Regions from separate parts of the Homo sapiens genome. Here regions 1, 2, 4, 5, 6 and 7 are each linked to region 3. The links are contacts of gene promoters, found by promoter capture Hi-C in blood cells and fetal thymus (Javierre and others, 2016). All regions are on one chromosome and are shown on one strand. The core of a region is centred on a gene start or on the middle of the fragment in contact, and the rest is flanking DNA. Distances in the headings are between cores, read along the strand shown. Region 1 holds the start of PRH1-TAS2R14 (PRH1-TAS2R14 readthrough). Region 2 has its middle 8.3 kb from the start of ETV6. Region 3 holds the start of CDKN1B (cyclin dependent kinase inhibitor 1B). Region 4 holds the start of ATF7IP (activating transcription factor 7 interacting protein). Region 5 has its middle 27 kb from the start of LINC01252. Region 6 holds the start of LOC124902876. Region 7 overlaps ETV6 (ETS variant transcription factor 6).

Region 1 (3,153 bases), core at 416-2,915, 1.5 Mb before region 3:
TATAGAAACAGAGGTACTCTAGGGTACCGTACTTGTGCTCTGAATAGCTGCTAGACATGCAGTGCACGGTGCGATGTGTGGTATCTCAACAATGCTTTTCAGAACAAGACTGTAACCTTAAGGTCATGATCAGAAATCACACATTTGAATAATCCATGAATGAAGACGGTGTGTGCGATTAAAAAATACAGTGCTTTCTAGTTAAAATGGGAGATAAGTGAAGGTAATGAAATGTGCACCATTTAAATAACAAAAGTATTGTGGCTATTAGAGATTCACTGTGCTGTTACTCTAATGGTATTAAGAGTTTGGAAGTACAGGCCGGGCGCTGTGGCTCACGCCTGTAATCCCAGCACTTTGGGAGGCTGAGGCGGGCAGATCACGAGGTCAGGAGATCGAGACCATCCTGGCTAACACGGTGAAACCCCATCTCTACCAAAAAATACAAAAAATTAGCCGGGCATGGTGGCGGGCGCCTGTAGTCCCAGCTACTCAGGAGGCTGAGGCAGGAGAATGGCGTGAACCCGGGAGGCGGAGCTTGCAGTGAGCCGAGATCGCGCCACTGCACTCCAGCCTGGGCGACAGAGCGAGACTCCCGTCTCAAAAACAACAACAAAAAAAGAGTTTGGAAGTACAGAGTAGTATTCCAGCTCTTGGAGCCTAGCCACAGGTTTCACAGATGCATCTCCATGCAGAAATGGCTGAAGCTTCCACAGCTAATCTGAACTTTTTAAGGGTTTACATGGCTGGGAATATAATTTTGTATGTATGTCCTTATGTATATACGCGTGTGTGTCCACTAGTTTTTTGCTTGAATGTTTATCATTCCTGTCACTTGCAATTTAAATATTCCTAATAAATAGAAAAATCCAAAGACTAAGATTGTGATCCTTTTTATGTCTATGGTATATTATGAATACAGAGACCTTGTGCTTTTATTGGCGTAGGAATCATCTTGCCCTAATATTAATATTATGAAATCAAAAGGGTAAGATTCCTAACATCCCACATAACACAGCAGACAAACTAAAGTTTTAATCTAGCTTTGGCCCTTACAAATTTTGTGCCCTACGGCAAGTTACATCTCGCTTAGATTTTTTCATTTTAAAGTGGAACTATCTGCATGGATGTTCGTACATGCTATATAACACATCCTATTCCAGAGCCACCTACCATCAGTTGAGCTCTAAATGGTAAATGCCACAGTGAGAAGCAGACAGGAAGGGGCGGAGCGCCAGCGGCGCCCGGGGCTACGCGCCGCACTGCACCGAGCGGCGGCAGCGGCAAGCTTGGGTGTGAGCCCGGGAGCCGCTTTGCTTACCGTCCTGCCGGTCCCAGCCGTCGCTAGGAGGTCCGCGGGCCCTGCGGCAACCCTCGCTACAGACGCTGGGCGGGCGGCGACACCTGGCTCATGGCCCCCGCGGCGGCTCCGTCCTCCTTGGCCGTCAGGGCCTCAAGCCCCGCCGCGACACCCACCTCGTACGGCGTCTTCTGCAAGGGGCTCTCCCGCACCCTGCTCGCCTTCTTCGAGCTGGCCTGGCAGCTGCGCATGAACTTCCCGTACTTCTACGTCGCGGGCTCGGTGATCCTCAACATCCGATTGCAGGTACATATTTAGAGCCATGACTAAGCTAACGGCCTCCGGGGCCAGCATGATGGCCGACTCCCAGGGTCCGTTGCGGCGCGGCGGAGCAGCCAATGGCGAGCCCCACAGTCTCGCGAGAGTGCTCAGGCGCTCTTCGTGGCTGCCCTCTTAGCTGCTAGCGGAGCTCCTCAGGGGGCGGCCGGGAGCCTACAATCCCTAGAAAGAGAATACGCTGTTCCGGAAACAGAACTGCAGTTAAGACCCTCGAAAACATCTAAGAAAGTGTGCATCCTAAAACACCTGACGAATTTCAGAATGTGACAAAGCGCAGAGGATGCATTATTTCAAAACAAAACAGAAGGCTAAAATTTGCAGGAAAAAGAAAATCAGTAAACCGGGAATCCTCGGACTGGATTGTAAGCAAGATTTCAATGAATAAGAAGCTGAAGGTATTAAGGCTGTGATATAGAAGGTACATATTTCATCCCACAAGAGAAAACAATAATAATCAGAAATTTTCGGTGAAAAAAACGCAAAACTGTACAGGAAAATCATCCTCCAAGTACCAGACATAAAATGCTGCAAGCTTTTGAACTAATGGCGAGAGTGTAAGAAAATGGGCTCTACTTCAGTGATCCTGTGGCAGGACGTGGATCAAGACTTGGAACCGCAGAAAACGAAATCCCATAGTAGCACAAAGCTTGGCTGTTCAGTGAATAACATTTAAATAATCGTAAAATACAAATGTTGTTTATGGTTTTTATTGTTTAAGGGCATACTTAATTATGGTTACAAAGTGGAGTGCAAATGTTATTTACCATGTTTTAAAAATACAGCCGGAAAATACAAGTGGGAATGTTGAAGGAGGGCGGGGGAAGTAAATGGAATGGGGGTTATGTCCTTATAAAGTGGAAACTTGAAAGGTACTGTCTGTTGTTGAGTGGGGAAAGACATTTTTATTACTTACAGGGTAGCCATAAAGTTTCTAAAACGGTAATATATTAAAGAGGGAGAGTGGTAGGGGAGAACAGTATGAAGTCAACAGGAAATGGCTAAAGATGGAGAGCTCAGGTAGAATAGTTTAAAAAATGAAAATTGATAGAGTACCTGGTGTATTTGAATACAGCCTAGAGAGCTTTCATTTTCCAAAGAGTGTGGGGATAAATTAGTGAATGCATATTTTTCAAAATTAAGAAAACAGAACATATAATTTTGAACGCTGAGAAAAATAAAAATTTAAAAACTACACTGTATACACGGTATACCTCAACTGTGAATAATAGTAGTCATGTAAAGTCAGTCATAATTATGTAAATACTGAATACTGATTTTACAACAAATGATTCTATAACGCTGGGAGGATGGGAGAAAAGAGATGTGTGTGTGTGTAATGGTGGTGAGCCAATCAAGATCTGATATAGAAAAATGCAGAAAAAGGAGTATACACATGTTTTCTTCGGATTAAAAAAACTAATAATAAATCACCAAGAGTGGTAAAGTTTTAAATCAAGATCTGATATAGAAAAGTGCAGAAAAAGTAGTATACGCATTTTTTTTTTCAGGAAAAA
Region 2 (3,238 bases), core at 556-3,055, 1.1 Mb before region 3:
TTTTCTCTGTTGTCTGCCACCATGTAAGATAAGCTTTTCACCTTCTTCCATGATTGTGAGGCCTCCCCAGCCACCCTGCGGAACTGTGAGTCCATTAAATCTCCTTTTCTTTATAAATTACCGAATCTCAGGTATGTCTTTATCAGCAGTGTGAAAATAGACTAATACGGCCCATAATTTGGGGAATCAATTTGGGAATCTGCCATTTGCTGAATATGTGAATTCCACCTCTGCATTTTAGAATTGGGAAAATAATCCTAGGGTTCAGGTATCCACCAGACCCACTATGAGTTGCACTCAGGCCAAAACCTCCACTTATTTCCTGACCTCTTAAGGCCCTACTGTGACTGGTGCACCACAGTGACATTTTGGGTTTCTAGGAACAGTGCTAGTGTGCAGCAGTCCTCCCAAAGTCTACTTATTTCCCCTCCCACAAGGTACAATCACACTGATAAGTGGCCACAGATCCCTTTGGGAAAGGATAGTAAGATTTACAATACATTTTTTGCAGTCTAGCAGCATTCTTCCACAAAAGGCCTTGCTTCCCCTTGATTCAAGGGGCTCTGTGTCTATGGACTAGATCAGGTGTGGCAATCAATCAGCTGAGGATCCGGGACTGCTCTGGAATTTAACTCAAGACTTTTCTACTCCACACCTAGAACTTTTTTTGTGTGTATATAAATCAAGTAAGGCTTTAGTAACCCATCATTTTATTTTATTTTATTTTTGAGACAGAGTCTCGGTCTGTCTCTCAGACTGGAGTGCAGTCGCCCATTCTTGGCTCACTGCAACCTCCAACTCTCAGGTTCCAGTGATTCTCCCACCTCAACTTCCCAAGTAGCTGGGATTACAGGCCCGCGCCACCATGCCTGGCTAATTTTTTGGTTTTTTTTAGTAGAGACAGAGTTTCACCATGTTGGCCAGGCTGGTCTCAGACTCCTGACCTCAAGTGATCTCCCCACTTCGACCTTAATTCTAGGGATATCAAAATAAATTAGCCAACACCAAAGATCAAACCATTCTGATTATCACTTTAGTTCTGCTGTCCATTATTACAACCATGTTTCTCTTGTCCCTAGCAGTAAAGATAGTTACGTGATGTCACTTGGTGCCTCTGTTCCAGTATCCCACTATCCCCAGTGAATTGTGGGATGGTGGCAACATTAATGGCTTACAGAGAATGGCTACTATAGAACTCCAAAAGGGTTCTGGTGTTTGCTTCAGCAATGCTTTCTTTCTCTCTTTCTCTTTCTTCCTTTCTTTCTTTCCCTCTTTTCCCCTCTCCCCTCCCTCCCCCTCCCCTCCTCTCTCCTTTCCTTTCCCTCTTCTTGCTTTCTTTCTTTTCTGTCTCTGGCTCTCTCTCTCTTTTCTTTCTAGTGATGAGCCCCTAACTCTGTTGCACAGGTCGGAGTTCAGTGCCAAAATCATAGCTCACTGCAGCCTTGAAATCATGGGTTTAAGCGATCCTTCCACCTCAGTGTCCTGAGTAACTGGGACTACATATGTGCACCAACCTGCCCAGCAACAATGCATTTCTTAAAGCTTTGATTAAAGGAGACCCTCCCAGGTCCTAACGAAGGGATCTTACACAATAAATCCACTCCAGCATACTGTCTGCTTATCTTTTGGATACCTTCTGTTTATAGCAATGGGAGAAGAATTCATGAAAGATGTAGTTTTCAGGTACTACTTAACAGAAAACAAATGGTTTCGTAGTGTGTGTGTGTGTGTGTGTGTGTTTGTGTGAATTTTGAATATGAACAAGGACTAAAAATAGAAATTGGAATAATGAAGTAAGGATTGTGATGGTTAATTTTATGTGTCAAATTGACTGGGCCAAGATGGCCAAGTAGCTGGTAAAATACTACTTTAAGTGTGTTTGTGAGGGTGTTTCTGGAAGAGATTAGCATTGGAATCAATAGGCCGAGTAAAAATACTGCCTTCACCGGTGTGGGTAAGTGTCATCCAACCCATTGAGAGCCCTAATAGAACAAAAGGGTGGAGGAAGGGCAAATTCTGTCTTCCTCTTCTTGAGCTGGGACATCTGTCTTTTTCTGACCTCAGACATTGAAGCTTTTAGTGCTCAGACCTTCAGCCTTGAACTGGGAGTTACACCATTGGCTCCTCTCCTTCTCAGGCCCTTGGACTCAGACTCAGACTCAATTATACCACCAGTTTCCTGGTTCCCCAGCTTGCAGATGGCACATCTTGGGACTTTTTAATCTCCATAATTGCACAAACCAATTCCCATAATAAATCTCCTCTTATGTATCTATCTATTTATCCATCCATCTATATCCTATTGATTCTGTTTCTCTAGAGAAACCTAATATAGTGTTTTAGCAGAGACGAAAGATTCAATAGTGAAAATGAACTACACAATTTGGTGGTGGAAAAAGGGACATGGCAAGAATCCAAACCAGAAAATTGTTACTTCTAGAAAGATAACTGGAAATATAGAGGAGAATCTGTGAATAAAACAGAAAAAGTTGGCAACAGGCAATATATGAAGCATAGAAGAGATCAATATGTCAAAACTTATTCTGAGGTTCATTAATTCAAAGGTTAACAATATGGTGGCATTGGTAAGAAAGGTGGCGAAGCCATAAAGAGAAAACATATGGAAGACAGTAGTTTGAAGGTCAGGTAGAAAAAGATGTGACAAAAATTGTGAAATATTCTAAAAATATAGCTGCCAAAGAGTGGGCTGATGGAAAGTTGATTAGTATATGCAGTGACTTTATAATGTGACAACTTGGCTAGGTTGAACTACATTCCCAGAATTCCCTTTATGATTCTAGTTATGGTGGGCCACAGAGGGAGAGTCTGGAGTGATTTGGAGGGTAGATATAAAGCAGCAAACATTTTTTTAGCTCATGCACATGGTCATTTAACTGTTGGCTCACCTCATGGGGATGAGCCAGTGACTGGGGCTGCAACTACTCCACCTTTAACATGATCCTTCTTCAGCTTCTGCAACTCCTGGGCCGGGTATGTGGGTGTTTAGTTCTGTGGCAAAGGACTCCAGCTCGTGTGGAACACCCAGGCCATCAAGGTCAGAGGCAATGAGAATTAATATGGGTTTTGGTTCACTCTCACGAGATCCACTTCATGCTTTTGAGTTCTAGCTTATAATTTGTTTCACCCACTTTACATCCATCTTCTCTTCCCAAATGGCTGCCTTAAATATATTTCTTTTATGATGTCAGTCAGCATGCAATCAAAGAAGCAGAATACA
Region 3 (3,286 bases), core at 787-3,286:
AGTAGAAAAACTAAAGAGGATGAGACCTCTTGCTTGATCCTAGGTGAATTCTTTTCTGTCAGTTAGGTAGGAAGTCCTGACTTGAAAACTAGTTCTGGGCACTGCCCCCTTTACTGTTCTCTGGGTATCAACCCCTGTCCTTCAATTTTAGTTGAACTAGTGGATGGTGATACCACAGGCTCAAGACAGCTGCATTTAAATATCAGTGACCACAGGCCACATCAAGGAAACATCTGCAGGCAACCCAGGGCCTGGGAAGGAGCCATTTTCAGTCACTTGTAAGACAGCAGGACCTGCAGACTACAGCACAATCAAACTCAGACAAAACCCTGAACCAGTGAGAACCATTAGGAAGGAAAGGAACAGAAAATGAACCAACCTGAGTGTTAGGAGACTTGCATCTAGTCCTGACTCCGGTACCAACCGAATGCATGTCCCTGGACAGGAAACCTCTCTGAGTCTCGATTTCCTCCGTGGTAAAAAGGAGAGGGTTAAACCACAGGGTCCCGAGGGTCCCTTCCAGCTGTCACATTCTGGAGCGTATGAGATGAGGTAGGCACACAAAGTGGACAAGATGTGGCTAAGAAAACAAGCTACACATCAAGCTCATCTGTAGCATAGGTGCTTAAGAAAACTTTGCTGCTGTGTAATATTAGAACGGAAGGTTGGTTTCCAGTAAAATGCATTAACTTTGGCTCAAACCAAGATGATGGGTACCGGGCATGGGGGTGGGGAGGCAGTTGAAGATCCACTGAGCTTTGTCTCAGGGCAGCCCTGCTCATCGTCCTACTTTACCTTCCACCACGGTGCTCAAGCCCACACTGAGAGAGAAATTTCCAGCTGCAAAAGGGAGAAGAGAAACGCTGGAATACTAGTATCGGACGTTAGGACATGGTTGTGGTGTTTTAAAAATCATTTCATCATCTGGAGTTTGACCCCGAGGGGAGTATTTTCACCCTTCAGCCCTCTGAAAGCATTCACTAGCATCTGAATATTGTTCTGAGTTTGTTGGAGCAGTGAAATCTGGTGAGAGAGAAGGGTGGAGGAAGGAAGGAGCTGTTGTATTTGGCGGCTGGACTCAGGTAGAGGAAACTGCTACAATCCCGGGAAAGAACAGAAAAGTAGAAAGGGACGAGTTCCCACACGCAGCCAATGTCCATGGCCTTAACTGTGCTTGGGAAGGAAGATCCTGGGCCAGGGGTGTACCCTCGTTTTTCAAAACTAAACGTGTCTGAGACAGCTACAAAGTTTATTAAGGGACTTGAGAGACTAGAGTTTTTTGTTTTTTTTTTTTAATCTTGAGTTCCTTTCTTATTTTCATTGAGGGAGAGCTTGAGTTCATGATAAGTGCCGCGTCTACTCCTGGCTAATTTCTAAAAGAAAGACGTTCGCTTTGGCTTCTTCCCTAGGCCCCCAGCCTCCCCAGGGATGGCAGAAACTTCTGGGTTAAGGCTGAGCGAACCATTGCCCACTGCCTCCACCAGCCCCCAGCAAAGGCACGCCGGCGGGGGGGCGCCCAGCCCCCCCAGCAAACGCTCCGCGGCCTCCCCCGCAGACCACGAGGTGGGGGCCGCTGGGGAGGGCCGAGCTGGGGGCAGCTCGCCACCCCGGCTCCTAGCGAGCTGCCGGCGACCTTCGCGGTCCTCTGGTCCAGGTCCCGGCTTCCCGGGCGAGGAGCGGGAGGGAGGTCGGGGCTTAGGCGCCGCGGCGAACCCGCCAACGCAGCGCCGGGCCCCGAACCTCAGGCCCCGCCCCAGGTTCCCGGCCGTTTGGCTAGTTTGTTTGTCTTAATTTTAATTTCTCCGAGGCCAGCCAGAGCAGGTTTGTTGGCAGCAGTACCCCTCCAGCAGTCACGCGACCAGCCAATCTCCCGGCGGCGCTCGGGGAGGCGGCGCGCTCGGGAACGAGGGGAGGTGGCGGAACCGCGCCGGGGCCACCTTAAGGCCGCGCTCGCCAGCCTCGGCGGGGCGGCTCCCGCCGCCGCAACCAATGGATCTCCTCCTCTGTTTAAATAGACTCGCCGTGTCAATCATTTTCTTCTTCGTCAGCCTCCCTTCCACCGCCATATTGGGCCACTAAAAAAAGGGGGCTCGTCTTTTCGGGGTGTTTTTCTCCCCCTCCCCTGTCCCCGCTTGCTCACGGCTCTGCGACTCCGACGCCGGCAAGGTTTGGAGAGCGGCTGGGTTCGCGGGACCCGCGGGCTTGCACCCGCCCAGACTCGGACGGGCTTTGCCACCCTCTCCGCTTGCCTGGTCCCCTCTCCTCTCCGCCCTCCCGCTCGCCAGTCCATTTGATCAGCGGAGACTCGGCGGCCGGGCCGGGGCTTCCCCGCAGCCCCTGCGCGCTCCTAGAGCTCGGGCCGTGGCTCGTCGGGGTCTGTGTCTTTTGGCTCCGAGGGCAGTCGCTGGGCTTCCGAGAGGGGTTCGGGCTGCGTAGGGGCGCTTTGTTTTGTTCGGTTTTGTTTTTTTGAGAGTGCGAGAGAGGCGGTCGTGCAGACCCGGGAGAAAGATGTCAAACGTGCGAGTGTCTAACGGGAGCCCTAGCCTGGAGCGGATGGACGCCAGGCAGGCGGAGCACCCCAAGCCCTCGGCCTGCAGGAACCTCTTCGGCCCGGTGGACCACGAAGAGTTAACCCGGGACTTGGAGAAGCACTGCAGAGACATGGAAGAGGCGAGCCAGCGCAAGTGGAATTTCGATTTTCAGAATCACAAACCCCTAGAGGGCAAGTACGAGTGGCAAGAGGTGGAGAAGGGCAGCTTGCCCGAGTTCTACTACAGACCCCCGCGGCCCCCCAAAGGTGCCTGCAAGGTGCCGGCGCAGGAGAGCCAGGATGTCAGCGGGAGCCGCCCGGCGGCGCCTTTAATTGGGGCTCCGGCTAACTCTGAGGACACGCATTTGGTGGACCCAAAGACTGATCCGTCGGACAGCCAGACGGGGTTAGCGGAGCAATGCGCAGGAATAAGGAAGCGACCTGCAACCGACGGTAATGACCCTTTCCCAACCATAGAATGTGTTTGGGGCCCCGCTTTGCCTGCTGGAGGGTGTTAACCTTAGCTTGCTTTTCGGCGTATTCTGATTTAGCTTTGGGAGAGCTAACTTTATTGGTCTTAGGTGTTCAGTGCTACCTGGCCCACTGCTTGTCTGTTTGTGACTTTTAAGTCAGAAACTGGAGATGGTAAGATCCGATAATTTCCCTAACTTAATACATCGCGGTCCCTCTCACTAGCAACTCCTAGGTATGTGACAAAGTTGGGATGTTTATCAACGGTCCGCCTCCTGGCTAGGG
Region 4 (3,181 bases), core at 275-2,774, 1.6 Mb after region 3:
TTAGTAGAGGCGGGGTTTCACCATGTTACCCAGGATGGTCTCGATCTCCTGACCTCATGGTCTGCCCGCCTCGGCCTCCCAAAGTGCTGGGATTACAGGCGTGAGCCACTGCACCCGGCCCTAGGTGATATTTCTAAAGGCCACCTTATATTTTAAGTAAATTGAATGGTTCCAGTTATAAAAATAAGTATTAACAACCCTATTCTAATTTCTTATTAGTTACAAAAATTTCTTGTTCAGTTTTCTGTCTTCTTCACTAGAGTACAGATTTCTTGAGGACAGGCACCTAACAGATCTACAACACAGTGATTGCTAAATAAATACTGAACCAATACATTCATATAATGAGAAGTTACATAAAAAAACAATAACCACACGGTACCATCTAATATTATTTTCAGGCTATTCTTGCCTTGCAAAACATATGTACTTTTATTCTTTTTTTTTTTTTTTTTTTTTGATAAGGGGTCTTGCTCTGTAGCCCAGGCTGGAGTGCAGTGGTGAGATCTTCGCTCACTGCAATCTCGGCCTCCCAGGTCCCAGTTCAAGCAACTCTCCTGCCTCAGCCTCCTGAGTAGTTGGGATTACAGGCACGCACCACCATGCCTAGCTAATTTTTGTAATTTTAGTAGAGACGGGGTTTCACTATGTTGGCCAGGCTGGTCTTGATCTCCTGACCTCAGGTGATCCACCCCCCCTCAGACTTCCAAAGTGCTGGGATTACAGGCCTGAGCCACGGCACCTGGCCAAAACATATGTACATTTATTCTATCATTTAGTGCTTCCAACCTAGTTCAACTATAGTCATGATTGCCATTATACAGGTGAGAAAACTGAGTAACACACTTATTCCGAGGAACCGGCAAGGAAGCTGCAGTAGTTGAACTTGAACCCAGATCTCTTAACCAGTAAGGCAGTGACTTGTCCACTACCTCCTGTGGAATTCATTAAAGGCCGACTCCCAGCATGAAATTGAATAAATGGGATGAATACAACTTCTGGTGAGAGAGTATGATAAAAAGTGCTTGCTCTGTTACCAAGCAACTGAAAGAAAGTATGTTTTTTTCATTCCTTCATTATTAATACAATTCAAAGTACATTCTGTGAATTTAAAACATAAATGATGAATAAATCAACATACTCCTGGCTTTTATGAAAATCTTTCCCTCTGCTCTTTAAACTCTCACCTACCTCCTTCCTTCTTTCTTTTCTAAGCCTCATAGAGGGCGCTCACAAAGTGCTACTTATTGATTGAGGAAGATCCACTCAAAAAACACACCTCACACTGCAACTGAGAGACGCAGCGCCACCACCTCGGGCTTCCTTCTCTTTTCCACGCAGGAGGCGGGGCCAATGTCCCTCATTCAAATAAAAAACCAGAATTTGCATGGGGAATGGCTAGTCCTTGAGCTTATTGGCTGATAGCACAGTGGGCGGGGTACATAGCACGACCCCCCGGAGCCCCGCCCATATTAATTTGCATAACGGCCCCGGCGCGTGCAAGGGAGAAGCGGGTTTGTTTTTGAATCTGCGGAGGCGGCGGCGGTGGCAGCGGCGGCGCGGCGACTGAAGCGCGCGAAAAGCTGAGGCGGCAACGTCGGGGACGGCTGCGCGGGACGGCTCTGTAGGAAGGAACTTGGTTCCCCCTCCCTCAGCTTCCGCCCCAAAAGGTATATGTGAATCCCAGGGGCTGTTAAAACCACATTTTCTTAAATTACTATTGTATTTCTGAAGAGTCAAGACCGCATTATGGCGGCTGCGGGAGTTGTGTCTGCGCCTGCGCGGTTGCGGAGCTGCGGGCGGCGCTGCATGGGAGCACGTGATCTTGCGGGGTCGGGCTCTAGCTGCAGTTGTGCAGCTGGCGGGGCGGTGGCTGCGCAAGCGCAATATTCATTTTCAAGATCTAATGTTCTTGTTGGACGCCATTTGGGTTCTAGATTTAATTTTCCTCGTTCTTGAGGGGTTTCTTTGTGTTAACCTTAAATTCTCACAATTTTCAAGAAAAACATTACTCTAATGTTGTACTCCTGGGCCGACCTCAAGCTCTTCTCTGTTTTTTCGATTTTTTGAAAAATTGTGGACTTAATTTTCTGTAAAAATGATTTTCATTTGTGGTTCTTGATTATAATTTCAGTTTTAAAGTATTACTGGATTCAGGTTTATATTTACGGTGGTAAAGATCAGCACCTAGTGGTGTTCTCACGGGAAGTGCATTTATTTGAACTGCATATTTGCAAATACATTTTTAACCCTATTTTTACCTGTTCTGTTATGGATGTGTGGAATGTTTACAAAACAGAAACAATTTTAGTTTTGGGAATATTGGGGGAACGGGAATAGTGGAAGAAATTACAGTATAATCGAAAATGAAATCTCAATCTGAGGATTATTTTGGTTTTAAATGTTTGATCCTAAGTAAATAAAGTTTTAATTTTAATCAGTTTGTATGTTTCTGGGCATTTGAATTTTACATGTTTTAAGTTTCTTAGGTGACTTGTTCATTACTGCTTCAGCTAGATTATTGTTACTTTTGAAATTAATCAACTCATTTTCTTAGCATTTTTGTTTGCTATGATATGTAAGCTATAACATTTATTTGGTAAATTTTTCTGATGAAGAATTCTAGAAAGAACATCCATTACCCTGAGGCCTCTTTGAAGAAAGTGGACCATTAATAAAAAAAATCTGTTTTTTTCTTTTAAACACTGTACTGTATGCATGTGTGTAAGATACAGTTGTGTTTGATTTTTTAATTGTAAGTGTGCTCCTGGTTTTATTAATAGTTTTTTAGGGAAGGTAATTATAAATATGCTACTGATTAGTTTAAAATGGTAGTGTCAACTATAGTTAAATCTTATGTAACACAATTGGGGGAAGTTATATAAGATTTGATATGATTCTCCCGTTGTGCAAATTCTTTCTTACTAAGCAAAGAAACTTGCAAATGTTTTCCATAGACTTCATTTGTGGTTCATATATACAACAACTGGTTTCTTGGTTGGTTATAACTCTTTAAGTTTGAATCAGTCTACTGTCAAATGAAGACGTGCCTCTTGCTTTATAATCTCGGTTAATTTAGGGAAATTTTTATTGCCTAAAACAAATACCATTAGTAAATATTACCTAGATGTAATTGAAAGTAATACTTTTGGTTGGTGGATTTTTAAATGACGTCACATAT
Region 5 (3,179 bases), core at 19-2,518, 1.1 Mb before region 3:
CATTTTTTAAAAAACAGAAAGGCATCCTTTTTTTTTATTTATTTAATTGAGATAGGGTCCCATTCTGTCACCCAGGCTGGAGTGCAATCACAGCTTACTGCAGCCTTGATCTCCTGAGCTCAAGCTATTCTCCTGCCTCAGCCTCCAGAGTAGCTGGGACTACAGGGACACACAGCCATGCCAGGCTAATTTTTTTTTTTTTTTTTTTTTTTTTTTTAGAGATGAGGTTTTGCTGTGTTTCGCAAGCTGGTCTCAAACTCCTGGGCTCAGGTGACCCTCCTGCTTTGGCTTCCCAAAGTGCTGGGATTACAGGCATGAGCCACTGTGCCTGGCCTATTATTTGTTTTTACCAAAGTTATATACATAAGCACATATAATCAAAAACATCATTACTACTATTATTTTGAACAAATGATTATCTGCTAGATCAAGTAAGGCTAAGAAAAATCAAAGATTTTATTTTGCTTTAATTTACTCATTCTCTGGTACATTTCCTTTCTTTGTGTAGATCCAGGTTTCTGACCTTGATTATTCTCCTTGTCACTAAAGAACTTCTTTTAATTTTTCTGGCTGGGCACGGTGGCTCACGCCTGTAATCCCAGCACTTTGGGAGGCCAAGGTGGGAGGATCACCTGAGGTCAGGAGTTCAAGACCAACCTGACCAACATGGAGAAACCTCATCTCTACTAAAAATACAAAATTAGCCGGGCGTGGTGGCGCATGCCTGTAATCCCAGCTACTCGGGAGGCTGAGGCAGGAGATTGCTTGAACCTGGAGGCGGAGTTTGCAGTGAGCCGAGATCACGCCACTGCACTCCAGCCTGGGCAATAAGAGTGAAACTCTGTCTCAAAAAAAAAAAAAAAACAACAACTTTCTTTGAAGGCAGGCCTACCAGCAACAGTTTCCCTCATTTTTTTGTTTGTATGAGAAAGCCTTTATTTCTCCCTCATTTTTGAAGGATAATTTTACAGGGCATAGAATTTTAAGTCGGTAGGATTTTTTCCTCTCACCGTGTTTAGTATTTGATTCCACTCTCTTCTTATTTACATGGTTTCCATGGAGAAGTCAGCTGTAATTCTAAACTTTGCTCCTCTATAGGTAAGGTGTTTCTTTCCTCTGTTTTCTTTCAGGATTTTTTCTTTATCTTTCTGAAGCTTGAAAATGATATGCCTAGGTGTCTTTTTTTTTTTTCTTTTGGCATTTTTCCAGCTTTATGTTCTCTGAGCTTCCTGGGTCTGCAGTTTGGTGTCTGACAAGTGTTTGGGAAAATTCTCAGTCATTATTGCTTCAAATATTTCTTCTGTTATTTTCTCTCTTATCCTGATATGTTACACATTTTGTAGTTATCCCACAGTTCTTAGATATTCTATTCTGGGTTTTTTTGAAGCTTTTTTCTTTTTGCTTTTCAGTCTTGGAAGTTTCTGTTGACATATCTTCAAGTTCCAAGATTCTTTCTTCAGCCATGTCCAGTCTCCTGATGAGCCCACTGAAGGCATTTTTCATTTCAGTTACAGTGTTTTTGAGCTCTGGCATTTTTTAAATTCTTTCTTAGAATTTCCATCTCTGTGCCTATATGATCCATCTGTTATTTTAATCAAAATTATACATGCACAGAGGTACCTGGTGACACCAATTCTTTTGCCATAATCTCTTTTTCACATTGTGTAACTTGGTCCTGAATTAGAGATTTCTCTCTCTTTCACAAGCATAATGTCAGATTCTATAGTTTTCAAGAAACTTCAGAATGTCTTTGTGAGAACAGTGAGAGAGTTTGTTCTCATTCTAGCCAAGAAAAAAAAAGATACTAAATATCAACACTAAAACTGAAAACACAGCACCAAGCAATTTAGAGAATTTGATTAATTTTGTACATTAAACTATGCTGCTCTATTAGTTCTTCCTTACCACTCTTTTCATGAATTATATTGCAATCCTATATTCTATTATTGGCCATCTGGATGAAATTATAAATTATAATAAAAAGAATCCTTGATGAAGGGTCATGCACATTTTTATTTCTGTATCTACTTTAAATGTGTTAATACTATAGAGTTGCAGAAATTTGAAGTAATTTTAAATTGCTCTTATGGACAAAACCCTAAGCCTCCACTACTTTGCAATGATGGAAAAGGCCACAGAGCACTTTGAAAAATCATACTTTTATCCCCATTATCTCAGCCAAATGTGAACTGTGGCAAACATCATGTACCTGCAAGCTTCTCTCCACCTATAAGGCCCCTGTCTTCTTCACATGCTACCCTTTCTACCTGGGTGTGAGCATCAATGGTCTGGAGTCATAACTTCTGGGAGCAGGTCTGCTTTTGATCAACTATACCACTCACAAGATTTTATGTGCTTGGTTCTCTTCAACTATGCAAATAGTAGATCAACTAACAACTGTTCCAGCCATAAAGATGAAATCCTCTTCATTCTTACATTCTCTTATAATTGACAAAGTATTGAAATACTTAGTGATGCTCTACTGCTACTACAATAGCTAGATAGACCTTTTGTTCCATCATTAGTTGATTCCCCTCCATTCTGGGCCTGTTTTCATTAAGTTTTCCTTATATAATATGAGGAAACTGTGAAGCATGATTTCTCAATCTCATTATCAGCACTCTTGACATCTGGGGCTGTAAAATTCTTTGTTATGTAGGGCTGCCCTGTGCATCATAGCATCTCTGATCTCTGCCCACTAGATGCCAGTACCACTCCCCCAACTTCTAGTGTGACAACCAAAAATGTCTCCAGACATTGCCAAATGTCCCCAGGGAGTGAGGGGTAAAATTACCCTCAAACCCCAAATAAAAACCACTGTTGTAAAGAAAACTTAAATGTTATAATGTATATAAAGGGGACTCACAAACTATGCAGTTTAGGAATTATTATATTTTTAATGTTTTTTGTCAATGTGTTGTAGAAGAATATGAGATGAAATATAGGCAAAGAGTGAAAGGTGGTCCTTAGAGTGTATTCCAGTTTACTGTCTGTATGGAAGTTGCCTTATGAGAAAAGGCAGACAATCTCTAAGGATGCCTTAAAAGAGGTTTCTGTAGCTAGTCATGTAACAGTTAAGTTGGCCATGGTACCCACATCATGATTACCTTACAGCTTATTCCTTGGGCAGGGGACTAGCCCCTTTGCTGCTTGCTATAAGAGGTGCTGAGCCTTTAACC
Region 6 (3,092 bases), core at 593-3,092, 2.0 Mb before region 3:
TTCAGTACTTCTAGGAAATGCCCCTGTCTCAATTCAGGAAGTGCAAAAAGCAATTATAAAGACTCAATGAAACAGGAAACCTGATAATAGATTACCTTAAAGAAAAAATAAAGAAAAAAGCCTCAGTAGAGAATGAAAGTAATTATTAACATCAATCCATACTGTCTTTTCATAAGATACAAAGTTTATAATTTCCAAGGATAAACAATAAGGCTTCACTTTTAAATTCAAAACTAAAATAGTAATTAAGACTTGCTCTGTTGTAGGCAGGGGTAGTTCTGAAGTTTGCTAGACTGATACACTTGGGAAAATACTTTAGCTCTCTTTGTTGGGGGAAAGAAAATCCAAAACAAAAAAAACATGTCTTTATATCTCCAAAGTTATGCAGTCTACACTGATGAGGCATTCTCCAGCTTTAATTCCAAAGATCTCTCATCTCTCCAAAGGAGAGATCAAACCCAGGCCATCTTACGTTTGAGGCCACTCTGATTGGAGCAGCAAGGCAAAGGAGAAAAAAACAGTTGATGTTTTCGATGCAAATGTACACAGTAGAGGCCTGTTTTTGATACATTATATGCATTTAAGTCAGGCAATATTCCAAATAATATGCGTTTAGTGCCTCTTTTCATTTGCCCAAAAAATTAATTACCTGGGAAAATATAAAGACTGGAACTGTTTTTAATATCTAGCATTGTTGAAGGAATAATCTTGATTAAAATGACAATACTAATAATAAAGGAAAAAGATGATAAATAATTCTCAGGTCTAACCTCAATCCAAGCTGAAGGTTATTTTTACTCTCCAATGTAGTTTAAAAAAGTTTCGTAATTCCGCAAATACTTCTCCAAGGACTTCTTATGATCAAATTCATTCCCACGTCTTGCTTTAAACCATAAACCCACTTCATATACACTAAGGGGAAGGGTTGGGGAGGAAGACCATAGATTTCCATAACATTTATCAGAAGGAAAATTTTTTTGCACTCATGAAAACTATTTTTCCTGGCCTATGTGCTTATAAACTCAAGTGAAGGCCCATTTGCAAATACTAGAACATATCCATTTTAGTCAGCATTGTGCCTAGTACATCTTAGGCATCTATGTGTTTGCTTGGCAAAGGAAAGGGGATGGCAGGACACACTAGACAGAGACAAACAGTGTTGAGGTGTCACGTAGAAAGGGCTGTCCTTCATTTTTAGAGAGACGCAGTAAGAGTGGAAAGATAAAAGGCATCAGACTCATCACCAGGGATCTGCAGAGGCAGTTGCTTGAGGAAATTAACCTTCATTTATCTGTTTCCTTCATCTTTAAAGATAGTATCTGCTTTCCCAATCTCAGAACAGTACAGGATTAAGTGAAAAACCGCAAAAGCTTTCTACAAAATAAGGTATCATTAACAATGTTATCCTAACACTGCTTTGGAGAACACAAGGTTTTCTCTCTCAGACATCTGGCAGAAAGTGTTCCAAGAAATATTTGCTAGAAACAACATCACAATGTACTACTGACTAGATTTAAGCAACTTTTAGTCCAGCAAAATCAGGCCTATTTTGTTTCTTAACCTACACAGGTTACAATTAGCATGTTGTTTGGTAGGGACTTAGTAAAAGCCCTAGAAAAAAAAAACAAGAAAATAGTCCTCTCAAGGTGGGGAATATTGAATACACTTCTCTCACATTGCTCCCTCAACTTTCTTCCCAAAGGGGAAGTAGGGCTCAGAGAGATGAGACAAACATGCCCCACCCCAAATAGTGAAGAGGTCTCCGAAGCATCCTACACCATCTGTTAACGTTCCTGTTTATAAGAGCGAACGATATGGACACACACCCTTTAGGGAGGTTATTCACCACCCACCTGCTTTGCAAGCGTTTAAGAACTCACACAGGGGCGTTACTTACGAAAAGAACGCTTGTTATGTGACTAAACCAACAACCATCACAGAAACCCTTTCCATCCACTGCCCCCCCAAATCTCAACATTTCATCTTCCTGTTTCCCTTCCTACGTTACAAGTGCCAAGGTAACAATGTTTTGAACTAACGTCATACCCCCACTTCCGACAAAGTTTTTTCAGCTGCTACACCACGTGCGTTCCCACAGTCCGGGAAGAGGGAAGCGTGTAGCCATTGGTGGACACTGAATGGCTGTTTGCAGCCGTGGGCACAGAGAGGGGGAGGAAGACGTGGGACTAAGACCCAAGTTTCCCGGAGACGATTGCAACATCTCTTTGCTGGCATGTGGCCAACAGGAGCATGGCGTCTTTCCCATGCCCATGTGGGAAGGGCGTCAGGGACAGACACCTGACCCTTCCTGGCAAGAAGCTTTTCTATCTTTCCCTCCCCGTCTCCTTCTAGCGCCCTCCTCTTCCCCAAAGGAAATGCTCTCCTTTCCCAGATCCCAAGCAAGGACCCCAAAGCGCCAGGCCCACGTGTCGGTCCTTCCCCTACATCCATCCCTACCCAAGGTCCCCTCTCCCAGACTGCCTCTCCTTTCTTCTCCAAACGCAGGCATTTTCCACCACGCGAATCCGCAACAGTGCCCGTCTGGGAGACAGAAGTTAAGACCTAAACTTTCTGGCCCGGAACCAGAAGGGAGATGCACACGGCCGCCAGGAGCGCAGGGCGCAGCGCGCTCACCTGGGAGCGCCGGCAAGGGAGGCGGCCAGCGCTGGGGACCCGGAGACCCCTGGGGACCCGGAGATCCCTGGGGACCCTGTGCTGTCAGCGTCTCCAGCCCGGGTGGGAGATGTAGCGCGAGCTGCCCACACGTGCTCCGCGGCCGGCTGGGCCCGCCCCACTACGGCAGCCCCTGCCCTCCCTGGCCTGACTCACCGAGAACTTTTTTCTCCGCGTCTTCGCTGCCGGCGGCGGTGGCTAAAGAGGCGGCGGCCGCGGTGCCCGTGGCTGCGGGGGCCGCGTCCCCACCGGGGTTTCCTGCGACGTGGGCGGCGGGCGCCGGGGCCGCGGCCTGGGGCGCACCGCTGCCCACCGGGCTCTTGGGCGCGGGGTCCTGGGGAGCCGCGGCGGCCGCCTCCGTCGGAGCCTGCGGGAGGGTGGTGGTGGTGGTGGTGGTGGCCTCGCCCGCCTCACTCATG
Region 7 (3,280 bases), core at 777-3,276, 1.1 Mb before region 3:
TACAGCTGTGCACCACTCACCTGGCCAATTTTTGTATTTTTGGTAGAGACAGGGTTTCACCATGGTGGCCAGGGTGGACTCAAACTCCCGACTTCAATTGATCCTCCTGCCTCGGCCTCTGAAAGTGCTGGGATTACAGGCGTGAGCCACTGTCCCCGGCCCCCGGCCAGGGATGTTAATGGCCTTGCTCAAGCTCGTGTGGCTAGTTGGTGGTGCCATCTGAACTAAAATCTAGGCCTCCCGAGTCAGCTGACTCCCTGCACAGTGCTCTTGTCACTGTCCCATTGAGTTGTTCACAGGGCTGGGGTCACTCAGTCAGTGCTCAAAAAAGCTCTTATTTTAACTTTAATTGAATACAAGCCTCAACAATAGGAGAGATGAGCCAAGTGCAATTATATGATAATAGCAAATGCCTTTTGCATCTTACAGCAGAATTTTGAAGGAATAGCTAATGTGGTTCTGAATAAGTTTCCAGAGATGAAAGAAAAGGAAAAAACCTAAGTCTGGAAGTACTGTACAGTGAGTCTAACTAGCATTATTACTCAGCGCTCAAGTATTTGAACCTATTCAGGGATCTGCTCCTTCATACAGTTGCTTATTATTTGTGACTGGGGTGAGACTTGAAAGAGAGCATCAATTCTCCAGTCTGCTTTTGTTTAACAGGCAGTTCCATGTCTGTCTGACCACAGAACAGACACTGTTTGCTGTGGGCTGGTGAATGTTCACTTTCAAGAGCAGGGAGTAGATGGCCCTTCGTGGAAGTTTAATTATACAGAAGAGTTTGAAAAGGCCAAGTTTGTTACTTTGGGGCATGGGGAAACCTTCCTCTCTAGCAGATGTGAGGGGACCGAAGTGTCTCTTTTCAGCAGTTGTATTCTTCTTGCTGTGGACCTAAATTCGATCCTAAGTCATTCTTTGTATGTACATGGCAGATGAGAAGATGAACTATAGACTGGAAAATAACCCTTTTTTGAGGAATTGTGGAGAAAATGTTACCCACCTGTCCCTCCTACCACCATGCAATAAGTGTGGGCTACTTAATACTCTTGAAGCAAGAGTTTAGGTTTGGAGAGAAACTGCTCCTCTGATCTTCTCCTGGAAACCACAAGTGGAAGTTTGTGATTTTCTTCTCAGCTGCCCTGTCCCCTCTCCCTTGGGTTATGACAGGCCGTGTAACTTTATCTTTCTTAGGACTTATCTCTTTGATGAGGTCAGTAATCCTGCTTCACTTACGTCCCCTATACGTAAGATTGCCATAACCAAAGATGACATGCAGACTCTAAAGCATTTCCTGGAAAAAATGAGCTACAGATAGAAGTAAGGCTCGTAATTTAAAAAATCGAACCCCAGAGAACAGCCTGTCTCTGAAGTTAACCATTCCCCCAGTACTTTCTCTTGTTTCCCTGGTGAAAGTGTGAATCTGGGTTGTGGCAGGGGAAGTTCTGGCACTGCTAAGAGGTGAGGAAGGAAGAGGGAGGGCCCAGAGCTGCCCACCTCACTTGCAGGTGTGGCCTGGAAGAGTGCCGGGGTCTCTAATGAAGAATCAAGTTCAAGGGATGAAGAGGAGTTGGCGAAGGGGCACAAAAATACAGCTAGATAGAAGGAATGTGTTATAGTATTCATTAGTATAATAGGGAAATTAGAGTTAACAATTTATTGTGTATTTCAAAATAACTAGAAGAATTGTACTGTTCCTAACACAAAAGAAAAATGTTTGAGGCAATAGATATGCCAGCTACCCTGATCTGATCATTACACATCTGCACAGATATCAAAATGTCACATGTACCCCCAAAATATGTACAACTATTATATATCAACAAAAAAAATCAAAGAGACAATTTAGAATAAGTATGGTCTCAAGCCTAGTGACTAATATGTGGACAAGTAGATCTGCACTAGGGTATACAGGAGGAAGTATTATGGAGACTTCATAAAAAGGGAGATGGGGCGGGGCGTGGTGGCTCACGCCTGTAATCCCAGCACTTTGGGAGGCCGAGGCGGGTGAATCACCTGAGGTCAGGAGTTCAAGACCAGCCTGGCCAACATGGTGAAACCCTGTCTCTACTACAAAAATTAGCCGGGTGTGGTGGTAGGTGCCTGTAATCCCAGCTACTCGGGAGGCTGAGGCAGGAGAATCTCTTGAACCTGGAAGGTGGAGGTTGCAGTCAGCTGAGGTTGTGCCACTACACTCCAGCCTGGGCGACAGAGTGAGACTCTGTCTCAAAAAAAAAAAAAAAAAAGGGAGATGGGGGACATGGTGGGAATTTGCTAAGCTCTTTTGTTAACTGCTTTAAAGAACTCAGACTAGGGAAGGAAACTTCTCTCAAGTTTATTGCTGGTTGTTATTTCCAGACCATTTGTCTTTCCCAAACTGCCCTTGGCCATCAAATCAGACTCCTGCTAGAGTAAGCCTCATGGTAGTGTCTCTTGGCTCACCTCTGTGGTTTTGCTAATTATTTTCATGTATTGACCTGGGATCACAGACCAGGCACCCAAAGGGACAGAGGTGAGTTCTTTTTCTTTGGGCCTCTTTGGATACTCATAACCCAAGTCCCTGTGACAGGTTTTGGAAAAATGGCACATCTGAAGGATTGGATCCGTGGTGCATTTTGTAATTGCTGTATCCTCTTTTCTTTAAGGTCTTGCTGTGTCACCCATGCTGAACTACAGTGGCGTGATCATAGCTCACCGTAACCTCAAAGTCCTGGGCTCAAGTGATCCTCCTGCCTCAGCCTCTGGAGTAGCTAGGACTACAGGTGCACCACCTTGCCTGGCTACTTTTTTAAAAAACTTTTTGTGGAGACGAGGTCTTGCTTTGTTGCCCAGGTTGCTCTCAGAACTCCTGGGCTCAAGTGATCCTCCCACCTCGGCCTCCCAAACTGCTAGGATTATAGGCATGAACCACTGTGCCCAGCCATTTTGTCCTCATTTTGACTTGAGATCTGGGAGATTTTAAAGATCCGTGTCATGAGTTCACTTGACTGGTGCTTTGCACTTTTGAGACCCGTCACTCTCCTGACTAATAGGTCTTGACGGCCACTAATGGCCAGCAATGGCTGGGAACAGCAGGACACTCTCACTTTGTACCTTTTGATCTGGTCTTTATTCAAAGTGGGGTGAACCCAGTAGGAGAGTTGTTGTTTTGGGGATAAAGTCTGGGTGACAGATTCTTCAGGCTGGGTAAGTCTCCTGTTCTCCCCGACTTTGAGACCTGAATGACCTGATTTGGCTGACTACACCTCCAGTCCCCTGGACAACAGCCAGCTCCTTTGATTTT

What was found. The method cuts DNA at HindIII sites, captures the fragments that hold promoters and counts their contacts. A CHiCAGO score of 5 or more calls a contact.
Region 1: a contact is called between the fragment with the promoter of PRH1-TAS2R14 here and the fragment with the promoter of CDKN1B in region 3, in 1 of 17 cell types (fetal thymus). The highest score is 9.3, in fetal thymus.
Region 2: a fragment that was not itself captured here is called in contact with the fragment with the promoter of CDKN1B in region 3 in 1 of 17 cell types (fetal thymus); the score reaches 6.3 in fetal thymus.
Region 4: a contact is called between the fragment with the promoter of ATF7IP here and the fragment with the promoter of CDKN1B in region 3, in 1 of 17 cell types (activated CD4 T cells). The highest score is 5.3, in activated CD4 T cells.
Region 5: a contact is called between a fragment that was not itself captured here and the fragment with the promoter of CDKN1B in region 3, in 2 of 17 cell types (M0 macrophages and naive CD4 T cells). The highest score is 6.9, in M0 macrophages.
Region 6: a fragment that was not itself captured here is called in contact with the fragment with the promoter of CDKN1B in region 3 in 3 of 17 cell types (total CD8 T cells, naive CD8 T cells and M0 macrophages); the score reaches 8.8 in total CD8 T cells.
Region 7: a contact is called between a fragment that was not itself captured here and the fragment with the promoter of CDKN1B in region 3, in 1 of 17 cell types (neutrophils). The highest score is 6.4, in neutrophils.

What each region holds. Positions count from the first base shown.
Region 1 is chr12:11,169,946-11,173,098 of GRCh38, forward strand. It overlaps PRH1-TAS2R14 (PRH1-TAS2R14 readthrough), which reads right to left and starts at 1,666. Exons shown (of 5, transcript NM_001316893.2): 1 at 1,477-1,666. SMIM10L1 (small integral membrane protein 10 like 1) reads left to right here and starts at 1,249. Exons shown (of 1, transcript NM_001271592.2): 1 at 1,249-3,153. The coding sequence starts at 1,412. The coding sequence ends at 1,618. It overlaps PRH1-PRR4 (PRH1-PRR4 readthrough), which reads right to left and starts at 1,680. Exons shown (of 10, transcript NR_037918.2): 1 at 1,477-1,680. It also overlaps a transcript of PRH1 not described here. The HindIII fragment of the contact is 883 bases long and covers 1,287-2,169 here.
Region 2 is chr12:11,639,729-11,642,966 of GRCh38, forward strand. No RefSeq gene overlaps it. Among named protein-coding and RNA genes, the nearest start is that of ETV6, 8.3 kb to the right of the region's middle. The HindIII fragment of the contact is 531 bases long and covers 1,541-2,071 here.
Region 3 is chr12:12,715,332-12,718,617 of GRCh38, forward strand. It overlaps CDKN1B (cyclin dependent kinase inhibitor 1B), which reads left to right and starts at 2,037. Exons shown (of 3, transcript NM_004064.5): 1 at 2,037-2,983. The coding sequence starts at 2,509. It also overlaps a transcript of GPR19 not described here. RefSeq lists silencers at 1,421-1,990, 2,415-2,603 and enhancers at 2,011-2,060, 2,141-2,240. The HindIII fragment of the contact is 7,251 bases long and covers 1-3,286 here.
Region 4 is chr12:14,364,158-14,367,338 of GRCh38, forward strand. ATF7IP (activating transcription factor 7 interacting protein) reads left to right here and starts at 1,525. Exons shown (of 15, transcript NM_018179.5): 1 at 1,525-1,670. It overlaps LOC124902884 (a long non-coding RNA gene), which reads right to left and starts at 3,033. Exons shown (of 2, transcript XR_007063220.1): 1 at 1,192-3,033. RefSeq lists enhancers at 1,106-1,923, 1,155-1,214, 1,685-1,744, 3,101-3,181. The HindIII fragment of the contact is 10,385 bases long and covers 1-3,181 here.
Region 5 is chr12:11,572,992-11,576,170 of GRCh38, forward strand. No RefSeq gene overlaps it. Among named protein-coding and RNA genes, the nearest start is that of LINC01252, 27 kb to the left of the region's middle. The HindIII fragment of the contact is 233 bases long and covers 1,153-1,385 here.
Region 6 is chr12:10,720,021-10,723,112 of GRCh38, forward strand. It overlaps YBX3 (Y-box binding protein 3), which reads right to left. Exons shown (of 10, transcript NM_003651.5): 1 at 2,830-3,092. The coding sequence starts at 3,091. LOC124902876 reads left to right here and starts at 3,032. Exons shown (of 2, transcript XM_047429946.1): 1 at 3,032-3,092. The coding sequence starts at 3,090. RefSeq lists silencers at 2,549-2,948, 3,079-3,092. The HindIII fragment of the contact is 949 bases long and covers 1,369-2,317 here.
Region 7 is chr12:11,658,374-11,661,653 of GRCh38, forward strand. All of the region lies in intron 1 of ETV6 (ETS variant transcription factor 6), which reads left to right. Among named protein-coding and RNA genes, the nearest start is that of ETV6, 10 kb to the left of the region's middle. The HindIII fragment of the contact is 5,715 bases long and covers 1-3,280 here.